Linked DNA regions of Homo sapiens: region 1 is linked to region 2. The links are contacts of gene promoters, found by promoter capture Hi-C in blood cells and fetal thymus (Javierre and others, 2016). All regions are on one chromosome and are shown on one strand. The core of a region is centred on a gene start or on the middle of the fragment in contact, and the rest is flanking DNA. Distances in the headings are between cores, read along the strand shown.

Region 1 (5,390 bases), core at 2,879-5,378, 1.4 Mb before region 2:
ACTTGAACCTGGATGGCGGAGGTTGCAGTGAGCCGAGATTGCACCACTGCACTCCAGCCTGGGTGACAGAACGAGACTCCATCCCGAAAAAAGAAAAAAAAAAAAAAAGTAATAGTTTTGTGTATTTGTTTATATTTACAGATAAAAATTTTTCAACCCCAATATATCAGTCTCTTAAATTTGAAGTGAAATTTATACTAGTTACAAAATCTAACATCTGACAACCACTAAACTATACTGACCTATTGTGCTTTAAGTGTAGATACACTAATACCCATTGCTGTGTTTATTTTAGAATAGGTGGTTAATCTTCATGCATTTAGAGCAGCATGTGAGTATCCATTTCCATTTATATAGAAATTAGGGTAAGACTTTTTAATTGAACATATGAAAATTAAGTTCCAAAAGGCTGTTCATAAATCCTTTTGTTTGAAAGTTGAAAATTAAACTAAGCAAGTGCTCTGTGTGGTCATAGACCCACCTGTGAAGTTCACTTTCACAAGGGAATAACATGTTGGTGACATTGGTTATGATTTTTCTTGATTTCTTTCCATCTGCCTTATAGGATGTGTTCACAGACTTGCATTTTGGAGTAAGTATTTTTATCGTTGATATGTTTATAATAAAAGGCTGTTCCAAGAACAGAAGATACACCGTGAGCCAGTGTTTGTAGATATTAAGTTTAATCCATGCATTGATTTGTTTTGTTGTGTTTTTTTTTTTGTTAATTAAATTGGACTCTTAAGGTTGTCCCAACCCCCTGCTCTCTATATTATTTTGCCAGGCTTTTAAGCTCACAACCTTGCTATACACCATTGGTTTTAAGCCATAGCTACACGTTGGATTCATCCGGGGAGTGTTAAACTAAATGACCAGTTGCCACTCCAGACCAGTTAAATGAAACTTCTGGGTGATTCCAATGTGCAGCCAGAATTGGCAGCCAGAGTTGAGAACCACTGCCAGAAATCTAACAAATAATGCAGTTGCAGAGACTAAATAACTGCATTTGACTGACAAAAGACCATTTGTTTGTGGTTAGTAGAGTCTGTGTACTTTCCTCTGTTGCAAAGCTTTGCTCATATCCATGAAAGTTCATGAATTAAAAACTTATGAAGAGAAGCAAAGTTTGTGGTTAGGAGCATGACTTTAGCTTTTGACTACCAGGTTTGTTGTGTAACCTTGGAAAAGTTTACTTAATCGCTCTACTTCAGTTTCCTCATCTATAAAGTAAAATATCTGCCTCAATGGATTGGTATTATAATTAAATGAGTTAATATTTGAAAAGCACTTAAAACAACATTTGGCATATAGGAAACACACTAAGCTTGTAAAATACAGAAATTTAAAAATAACAGCTCTTTTATCTGTAGCTATACTGCTTCAATGCATTTAAGGACTATGACATTAAAGACTGGATGGCTCCTGGAATTTTTACCTAGACTGTTCTGTAGTCTTCTCAGTATTAAAATGACTTTTTCTTTTTCTTCTTTTTTTTTTTTTTGCCCCTTTTGCTGTTTGTGTTTCTAAGTTTTTATATGAAAAGTCCAACCTTTTTAGCATGTCAGAATATTGGTGGTGTTTTCTTCCCACATTAGAGAAATGACTATTCATAACATGTTGGCTATAAGATGCAGGTTTTCAAACTTTTTGTTTTCTGGTTACTTTTTGGCTCTTAATTACCAAACACCTTGGATGTTTTTTATCCCACTTTTAGATGTGTCACTGTATCAGGTGCTCAAGAGCTGAGAAGACTGGTCGTTGTATGGCTTAACTATGTAAGACAATCTGAATTCTGAACATTTTGTTTTAATGCCTTGAAATGGTAGCTGAACTTGTTTGCACTTAGTCATGAGTTTCTTTACTTACCTTGTGTTAGAGAAAATGACCATTAAAGGTACTTTGAACTTGAATTTGGTAGTCTTGTCATCTACAGATAAGGCATCTTAGGGCCCGTATTTGGCAATATGCCTAAGTCAGAATCAAATAAATTGTTCTGAATTTCTAAAAGTTTAAGACTTTTGATACTCATGTATTTTTTTGCTTTTTTAGAGAATTTGATGGCCCTCAAATTTAATGAAATATAATCTTAATTTTGTAACATATACCATGCTTGTGGCACATCATTTTTAAAAATTAAATTTATTGAGATATGATTCATGTACAGTAAATTGTGTCTTTTTAAAGTATATAATTCCGTAAGTTTTGACAATGCATGCATCTCTGTAAAACCATTACCACAATAAGGCGTAGAACATTTTCATCACTGCCAAAATTTTCTCATACTTCTTTGCAGTCGGTCTCTCTCTATACTCTCAGTCTCACATGTCTTTTCACTATAGATTCACCTCCATTTATTTTCGTTTCTTAGCTATTGTGAGTAATGCTGCAATGATTATAGGATTGCAGATATCTCTTTGACATACTGATTTCATTTCCTTTGGATAAATACCCATAGTGGGATTGCTGAATCATGTAGTAGTTTTATTTTTAATTTTTTTAGGAACCTCCATACTGTTTTGGCTGTACTAATTTACATACCCAACATAAGTATACAGGATTCACTTTTCTTCACATCCTCACCAATGCTTGTTATCTCTGGTCTTTTTGATAATAGCCATCCTAACAGATGGGAGGTAGTATCTTATTGTGGTTTTAATTTGCATTTTCCTGATGATTAGTTTTGTTGAGCACCCTTCTATATACCCATTGGCCATTTTTTGTGTTGTCTTTGGAAAAATATCTATTCAGGTCATTGCCCATTTTTTAGTCAGATTATTTGTTTTTTTGCTATTCAGTTTGAGGTTTTTTTTATATATCTTTTGGATATTAACCCCTTATCAGGTATATGGTTTGTAAATATATTTTTATCTTAAAATGGCATCACATATATACTTGCTAACTTATTTTCTGTGCTTTGTATGTTTTAAAAAGGAGAATTAGGATAGAGTTATTGAGAAAAAATATTATTTTTATACACATCAAGTATATAAAAATCAAGTGGTCCTGGCATGTAAAAATGCATGAACCTTAGCACCACCTATTCATTTTTTTCACATATAAGTAATTCTTTATCTATTTGGTGGTGTTACTGTTCATTTCTCCTTGAGCTAATAAATTTTTCGAAAAGATCTGTGTACTGCTATTAAAGAACTTAATGGATATGACTGGACTGTCAGCTGCAAGGTTTTCTTTTGACAATAACACAAAATGAAAAAGCCTTTTTAATAAGCTTAAAACAATGGTCTCTAGAAAAATGACATTGAAATTATTGCTTTTCTGACCTTGGAACTCTTACTTTGAAAACAGTAACTATTGTGAAAAATTTAAATTCTGCTTTTGAGTGACTGCTATTTATTGAAAGCCATCCTCTGTAGTTTGAATTTTATCTTAGCAACTAATTTAATTTGTTTATACTTTTCATGTTTATTTTTTGAGCATGATGAAAATTTAAATATTTTGTCCTCCACTGACTGAGCACCCTAATTAACTTCTCTAATTTATACAAATTGTAAATCAAAAGTAGTCTTTGCTTTTCCATTTATACTTTCTATTGGGAAAATCACACCTGGTTTTAATAGACAGTATGTATAAATGAATGACAAAGTACCGTAAGGATGGCAGATGAGGGAAGTGTAAGATGATAAAGTGGGAGGCAGATAAACCCTCTTGAAGAAAATATGAATTCAGTTACATTTTGAAGGAAAAAAAATGCTGTACCAGATGGCAGGAGAGAGGTTAATTCATAAAGAAAGAATAATATCAACTCTAAATAAATAATTTAGGGATTCCATTGGTTCACTTTAATTTGGAACTGTTTTAGAGCTGCGCTTCTGGATGTTATGTAGAGCAAAAATACTTTTAAACCCATTTCCTTGTACTTGTTTTTTTACAAAGGCAGTTGCATTGTAATAATGTCTTAATCACAAAGTTATTAAAAATGGAACTCTTTTTAAATTAATGAATGTGCTATTCTTTCCTAGTTGTCATTGTCCTTTTATTAGTAGCTCCTAATTTATTTTTTAGTTGTGACATAGTGTTTTTGAAGGTGAGTTTAGTCAATGCAATAGTTATGGTATTATCTTGATATAAGATTCAAAATAATTTGGTTCATTGATTATCATATTGAACTTGGTTTGGCAACTTTAAGTTGGCATCACTCATGTTTAAAATTACGAATTTGTTTTTTAAAATGGGTGTTTGAAAAATTTAAATGTTATGGGATAACTAAATAGAAGTCATGTTAATGTGAACTTTGTTCTAGAATTTTGTAAGACAATTTAAGCTGTAGAGCATATATTTTTGAATTGTGCTTTCTAAAAATAATTTGTGAATTCTCTGTAGTTGGTCAAAGTAAAACGTGTGTACCCATTGCAGATTTTGTTCTCCACGCCTCCCTTTCCCCTTGTACCTGTCTCTTTCTCTCTCTCTTTCTCTCTGTCTCACTTTTACTTTAAGACACATGTATTTTTTCTAGAATGCCTATAAGAAATTGGTAAGAAAATGGGTTATTAATTACAACACTTTTGAGTCATTCACAGATGCCATTATATTAAAATAAATCATAAGGCTAATTATTAATTCATTGAGAGTTCTGATAGAACTTGAAGACCTAAATGTTTCTTATACTGTGTTGACTAGACCTTTCATGCAAACTTCAAGAAGTTCTAGCTCCTGATTTACCTTTTAATAATGAAAAAATGTTGTCCTTTTAAATAGTATATCTTTTAATTATTAGTTGACCTAATAACTAAGTGATAAAAAAATCCTTAAAATTGAGTTTTAATATATTGTTTGTATATGCAGTTTGAGTTGGTAGAGGAGTTTTAAATATTATACTGGGCACTGGTGAACCCTAACTTTTTTTGGATTTTAGAACCTGAATCATAGATTACTTTGAAAAACTTTGCTCAAAATTTAAATACCATTATTTTAAATACTATAAAAACAAAAAATGGGCTATTATGAAAATACTTTTTCTCATTCCTTTTTAATAATTTCATTTATTTTTAAAATTACCTTAAGCTTTCAGAGGTATTTTGGGAAGTGGAATTTTCTCATAACTAAAGGCCAGCTATGTTTTTTGTTCAATTTTATAACCACCAGACTTTTAACAAAATGTATACACAGTAGTCAGAGTTTGAAACATTTTTATTTTATAAATATATGAAATAAAAGTTTTGGGTCCAGGATGCCTTGCATAGGATATAGGGAACCCGTCAGGTTCATATCTCTTTTATAGCATTTCCACATTTTACATGTCTTCTCCCCTTTTTTTGATACCAATGCCTGCTCATTAACTTTATTTTCTGTAGCATTTAATATGGAGTATTTTTAAAAGAAAATCTGTTGAAAGAAGGAAAAATATATACAGGTGCATCTTCTACTGTCAG
Region 2 (5,634 bases), core at 2,020-4,519:
GAACTGCTACTCTATGATACCTTCTATTATTTGCTTACCAATGGTAAGTATGTATAGATAGGAATATATTTTAATATCTATATTTGTGGAATCTGTAAACTTAATTATTTTAACTTTGTTTAAATATCTCTTTGACCATTAGATTTGATGCCTAACTATAGTTTAAATTTGTACCTTAGTTAGGACTTTATGATTCATTTTCCCCTGATGGTATTAACAACAAATAGAGGTCTGCTTTAATATATAAGGAGACAAGGCAAATATATTTGAACTAGATACATAAAGCCAAATATTCAGCTTAGAATTTAATTGATAAATTAGAATAAAATAGGATGCTCTAACTGCTGCTTCTTTTTCTCATAAACTTTTTTCTCCCAAAGATCAGTTTCAGGTTCAGAGCAAAATTGAGCAGGAAGTATAGGGTTCCTATATATTCCTGTACCCCACATCTGCACAGCCTCCCTGACTATGAATATCCTGTACCAGAGCAGTATATTTGTTACAATTGATGAACTTACATTGACATCATTATCACCCAAAGTTGAGATTTTATATTAAGGCTCCCTCTTTGGGTTGTATATTTTATGGGTTTGGACAAATGTATAATGACATGCATCACCATTATCATATCATACAGAATAGTTTCACTGCCCTAAAAATCTGTGCTTCATATCCCCCTCCTCTGTGACCTCTGGCAATCACTGATCTTTTTACTGTCTCCATATGTGATGGTTAATACTGAGTGTCAGCTTGAATGTATTGAAGGATAGAAAGTATTGATCCTGGGTGTGTCTATGAGGGTGTTGCCAAGGAGATTAACATTTGAGTCAGTGGGCTGGGAAAGGCAGACCCACCTTTAATTGGGTGGGCACCATCTAATAAGCTGCCAGTGAATATAAAGCAGGCAGAAAAACATGAAAAGGAGAGACTGGCCTAGTCTCTCAGCCTACAGCTTTCTCCTGTGCTGGACGCTTACTGCCCTCAAACATCGGATTCAAAGTTCTTCAATTTTGAGACTCGGACTGGCTCTCTTGCTCCTCAAGCTTGCAGACAGCCTATTGTGGGACTTTGTCATCATGTAAGTTAATACTTAATAAACTCCTCTTTATATTTATATGTCTATCCTATTGGTTCTGTCCCTCTAGGAAACCCTGACTAATATACCATAGTTCTGCCCTTTCCAGATATTAGCTTCTTTTTAAGTACACTTGATGAATCTTAGTGATAAAATCAGGCCAGACCTAGCAACTCTTTTTGTATGTTTATTGACTTCCCAATACAATAAAGGCCATAAACACCTGTCTTTGTTGTTTATTCACCTACATTCCATCCCAGACTGTCAGTTCCTAGTGACCAGGAGCTCCATTCAATTTGGGGTCATGGTACCAAATAGTTCTTGACTGCTATTTGATGAGGGTGGTCCTGTCACCTAAGTGCTCTTGAAATTAAGTCCTTAAGCACTGGCCGAAAAGAGCTTACTTTGCAGTAATTATTTCAGTGACAAGTAAGAAAAACTGGGACATATCCCCTTCACAGGAGAGCAATTTTGCTCTCTTTAGGAAACTCTTGGAATTTTAGTTATCAGGCTATTTAAGACCCTGAGTAGATTCTTAAACCTTTAGAATAAATTTTGAACCAAGAGTGCCAGAATGTCTGTTATTTACATTAGTATTAAGTGATCTGAAAGTGCACAGAGTAGTTTGGCAGTATCTAGAGGGAGAATAGAGACAGAAATAATGAAGATACAACTGGAGGAGTAAGAAAAGGAGAAAAAAAGTATTTTATGTCTGTTCAGTATTTCTAGGTGCCACTGCTGCTAAATGCCTGGGCTTCAGCCTAGGTTGGGTTGCTCCTAGCAAAGAAAACCAGTCCCTGAGACAACGAGTATTGCCAGGGAAGACAGGCTTTAATGCAGGTGATGCTGGCAGGGAGACCAGTCTCAAACATGTCTTAGGGAGACTAAAGTTAGGGCTTTCTATAGCAGGGAATTATGGAGGGGTAAGGAAGAGGAGTTTGTGAACAGGCAGCAGATGCACCTCATTGTCCAGATGTAGTGTTCTGGAAAGTTGCATTTCCTTGACACTATCTGGGAGGTCTGACAGTTTATCTGCTGAGAAAGGAACTCAGGTAAAATGCACGCAAGTTTCTCAAGTTTCACTTCGAAGGGAAAATTTGGCCGGTTTCGGTCTTCCCTTTCTATTTATCAATTCCTCAATCATGCGGAATCTGGTAGTTGATCTTTCTGGCTGCTTCACGTGAAGGAAGGGCATCTTGGGATGATATGGAATGAAAATATCGCACCTGTAATTGCAAGTACTTACGAGTACCTGGTTGGCATCCAGCTTGTTGGAGCACCATGATTTGGGTACTTTCATCAACATTTTAAACCACATTGAATTAGGATAATTAATAACATGGATAAGAAGGTTTCTTTGTAGGTTGTAATAACCCAGTTAAGAGTTTGTACCATTCGGCCGGGCGCAGTGGCTCACGCCTGTAATCCTAGCACTTTGGGAGGCCTAGGTGAGCGGATCACGAGGTCAGGAGATGGAGACCATCTTTGCTAACACGGTGAAATCCCATCTCTACTAAAAATACAAGAAGATTAGCCGGGCATGGTGGCGGGGGCCTGTAGTCCCGGCTACTAGGGAGGCTGAGGCAGGAGAATGGCGTGAACCCGGGAGGCGGAGATTGCAGTGTCGCTCTGGCGACAGAGCGAGACTCCGTCTCAGGAAAAAAAAAAAAAGAGTTTGTACCATTTGAGGGCAAAAGCTTCAGTATGAAATTCCCGTTTCTCTCAAGTAAACCGCCTGTCCTGTGTTACTCACTTTGTTTTACCTGGAGGCAGCAAAACTGAATAGTTTTCCTGAGTGCTCATGAGTAGGAAAAAATGAAATGAAGAGTTGCCCAGAGATCGCTAGTGAGGTGCTTTGCCACTACTGCCCTGTACTTAAGTAACTGTGAGGGTTCTCTGTTTCCTGGCTTCTAAAACAAGAGGAAGAGCTGAAGACACAGTTTCATAGACTTTTCGGCTCTTTATTGTAGTCTCCCCCATTAGTACGTTGCTGAGCTTAGGGCAAGTGCTCAATAATAGCTTGCTGAATTAGTGTTGTGTTTGATCCTTTCAGATCCACGCCGCATTTTGAGCCCGACCTGGGCGGGCGGTCCAGAGACCAGTTTTCCGCCGGGGGCGGAGCTTCGGGCGGCCAGCGCGCGACGGGGCAGCGGGGCGGAGCTTGCCGCCGGCGGAGGGCGGGGTCTGCGCGGGGACTTCCCCCGGGCTGAGCTGCGCAGCGGGTGCGGAGGGCGGGCGCCCGGCGTCCGGCGGCGGGTGGGGGGCTGTGAGGCTGGCAGGGGTCGGCGGGCGCGTAGCCGCCGACCCTTGGTGGTCTCTTGGGCTGGGGACCCTTCCCTGGGAGTCGGCCCCGGCCCCGGCGGGGCGGGCGTTGCCGGGAGGCGGAGGGGTGCGCGGCCGCGAGTCCTGCGTGATCGCGAGCATGTGTGCGTGCGCGTGTTTATCTGAGGCGCGTGCGGCGGCCACCCCAGCCTAGTCCTCTTCTTGGTGCCACTGGCTAACTAGGTTGAGAAACCGGCGCCACAGGCGGCACACCTGGCCCGGAGCTGGCCCGCTCCTCCCCGCCGAGCCGGCGCCCCAACAACGCGCCCTCTCCCAGTCCTCACAAAGGGGCCTAGTCCGGCCCCCGGCTCTGGCCGTGAGGGAGCGCTGTGGGGGCGCGCTGCCTTCTGCCTGGAAGTGTTGGGCAGGTGGTGGGAGAGCGTCAGGCTTGAACAACATGATTTTAAAGCACGTGTCTGTCTGTCGTTTTTTACTTTTAGGGTTTTGGCCAAATTGGGCGAGGGCACAAAATAACCACTTACCCCTTCTCACCGAGGAAGAGCGGGAGAAAGGGTAAGTAAGGAATGGTCAGGGGTGGAAGGACCTAGGACTTTATCCTGAGAGCGAGCGAGAGAGAGAAGGGCTAGATGTCCAGAACTGCTCGTGGGGAACTTGGGCCCAGATTCTACCTTTTCATCGGGAACTGGAGGACCCACCTTCAAAGTCACAGGCTCCAGGCCCCGGACTGTTTTCAGCCTCACACAGTCTATAGAGTTTAACAGCTTGGGCATGTGGATCCCTTTTAGCCCCTTGACCCGACAGAAAACTGCACTTCCCCTTTACCTGTTTTTACCTTGGAACATTGGTCCTCTCTAGTTGTCTGTCTCCGGCCCCTATCTTATTAGCCAGCTTTGACTAATCCCTGAGACCATAGCACTAAAGAATCCAGGTCCTGTTTGATAATGAACAGTAACCCCCCTAGGGATGTTTACATTTTAAAAGGGTACTCCTGAAAAAATCCTTTAGGACCCCAAAGCATAAAGTTAGTAACAAGATTACAAGTGTTGAAGTTCTTTGGGATCTCTCAAGCTTACAGAAGAAGATGTTTTGAGGGGAGAGAGATGACCAGGCTGGGCCTTTTTCTCTGGGCTTTCACTCTTGGTACCTCCTGGCAAGCATTCCATTCACTTTTGAAAAGTTGCCAAAAAGGACACTGAAGTTCTCTGAGGCTTACTGTGATTTTCAGTGTGGTCTATTTCATTGGTTCTTCTGTGGGACTTTTCTATCACTTCTTTAATACACTGCTTCCCTCTCCCCTGTATGGTGAAATGAAACACAGCTCCTCTCACAAGGTTGGGAGCTCATTATGCATCCTATATGTCACATATAAATAACCGTTTTAAATTAGTTGAAATTCAGATTAGCTACAAGCAGGAATGTAGTAAAACTGCATTCTTGGATTCTTACACAGGAAAAGTAGAATTGCCCTCTGTGATAGGCTGCCTATTCTGATACTGGCTGCCTGTGTCCTGAACGTGCCTATTTGTTTGTGCTCAAGTGATAGGTGACCACATAATTTATGGAAAACAGGAAGTGATTGTTTATTGATAATGGGTTCCTTCATTGATTCAATAGCTAATTCTCTCTTACCATGTGCTACGCACTTTTATCAGCACTTTGATAAAAGTAGGATGGTGAGAATGATGAGATTGTATTGGAGATGGCTGTTTTGGGGTAGGCCTTTCACCAGTTTTGTGGATTTTCTCAATAGTTACATGTTAATTTACAAGACTTTCCCTGTACTACTGATCATAGTGGTTTGCAGGTCTATACAGTGTTGTGGGAGAACAGAATTATTATTCCGCCTTTCTAGTACTTTCAGTAATAAACTTACAAGGATGGCTGACCTTGATGATTTGTTTCCTATAATGAATAATGTTATAGTCATTTTCCAGTGTACGAGTATAATAATTAGATGAGGATAACTTTTGTAGTTGTTCCATAAGAAGGACCTAATATTAGGAATCATGGAGAGTGTAAAGGATGATGTACTTAGAAAAATAAATTCGAAAGTAGACCATTTTTAACTTGCATGGGTTTCTGTGCATTTAGCCTCATTTAAAAGATCTAAGCTAGAATAGTTCTTTGTCTTTTTCTGGTTATAAGAGTAATAAAAAGTCAAAAAAAAGTTATTTAGAATTAAATCTGGGAGGGTATAAAAGGCAATAAGTGAGTTTCCTATGAGTCCACTTTCAGATGACCACTTAACAATTTGATACTTGTTTCTTCAACTTTTT

Evidence for each region. The method cuts DNA at HindIII sites, captures the fragments that hold promoters and counts their contacts. A CHiCAGO score of 5 or more calls a contact.
Region 1: a fragment that was not itself captured here is called in contact with the fragment with the promoter of IMMP2L in region 2 in 1 of 17 cell types (monocytes); the score reaches 7.6 in monocytes.

The regions. Positions count from the first base shown.
Region 1 is chr7:112,926,639-112,932,028 of GRCh38, reverse strand. All of the region lies in intron 1 of SAMTOR (S-adenosylmethionine sensor upstream of mTORC1), which reads left to right. Among named protein-coding and RNA genes, the nearest start is that of SAMTOR, 11 kb to the left of the region's middle. The HindIII fragment of the contact is 1,793 bases long and covers 3,232-5,024 here.
Region 2 is chr7:111,560,127-111,565,760 of GRCh38, reverse strand. It overlaps IMMP2L (inner mitochondrial membrane peptidase subunit 2), which reads left to right and starts at 3,269. Exons shown (of 6, transcript NM_032549.4): 1 at 3,269-3,910. RefSeq lists a silencer at 3,108-3,737. The HindIII fragment of the contact is 1,654 bases long and covers 2,775-4,428 here.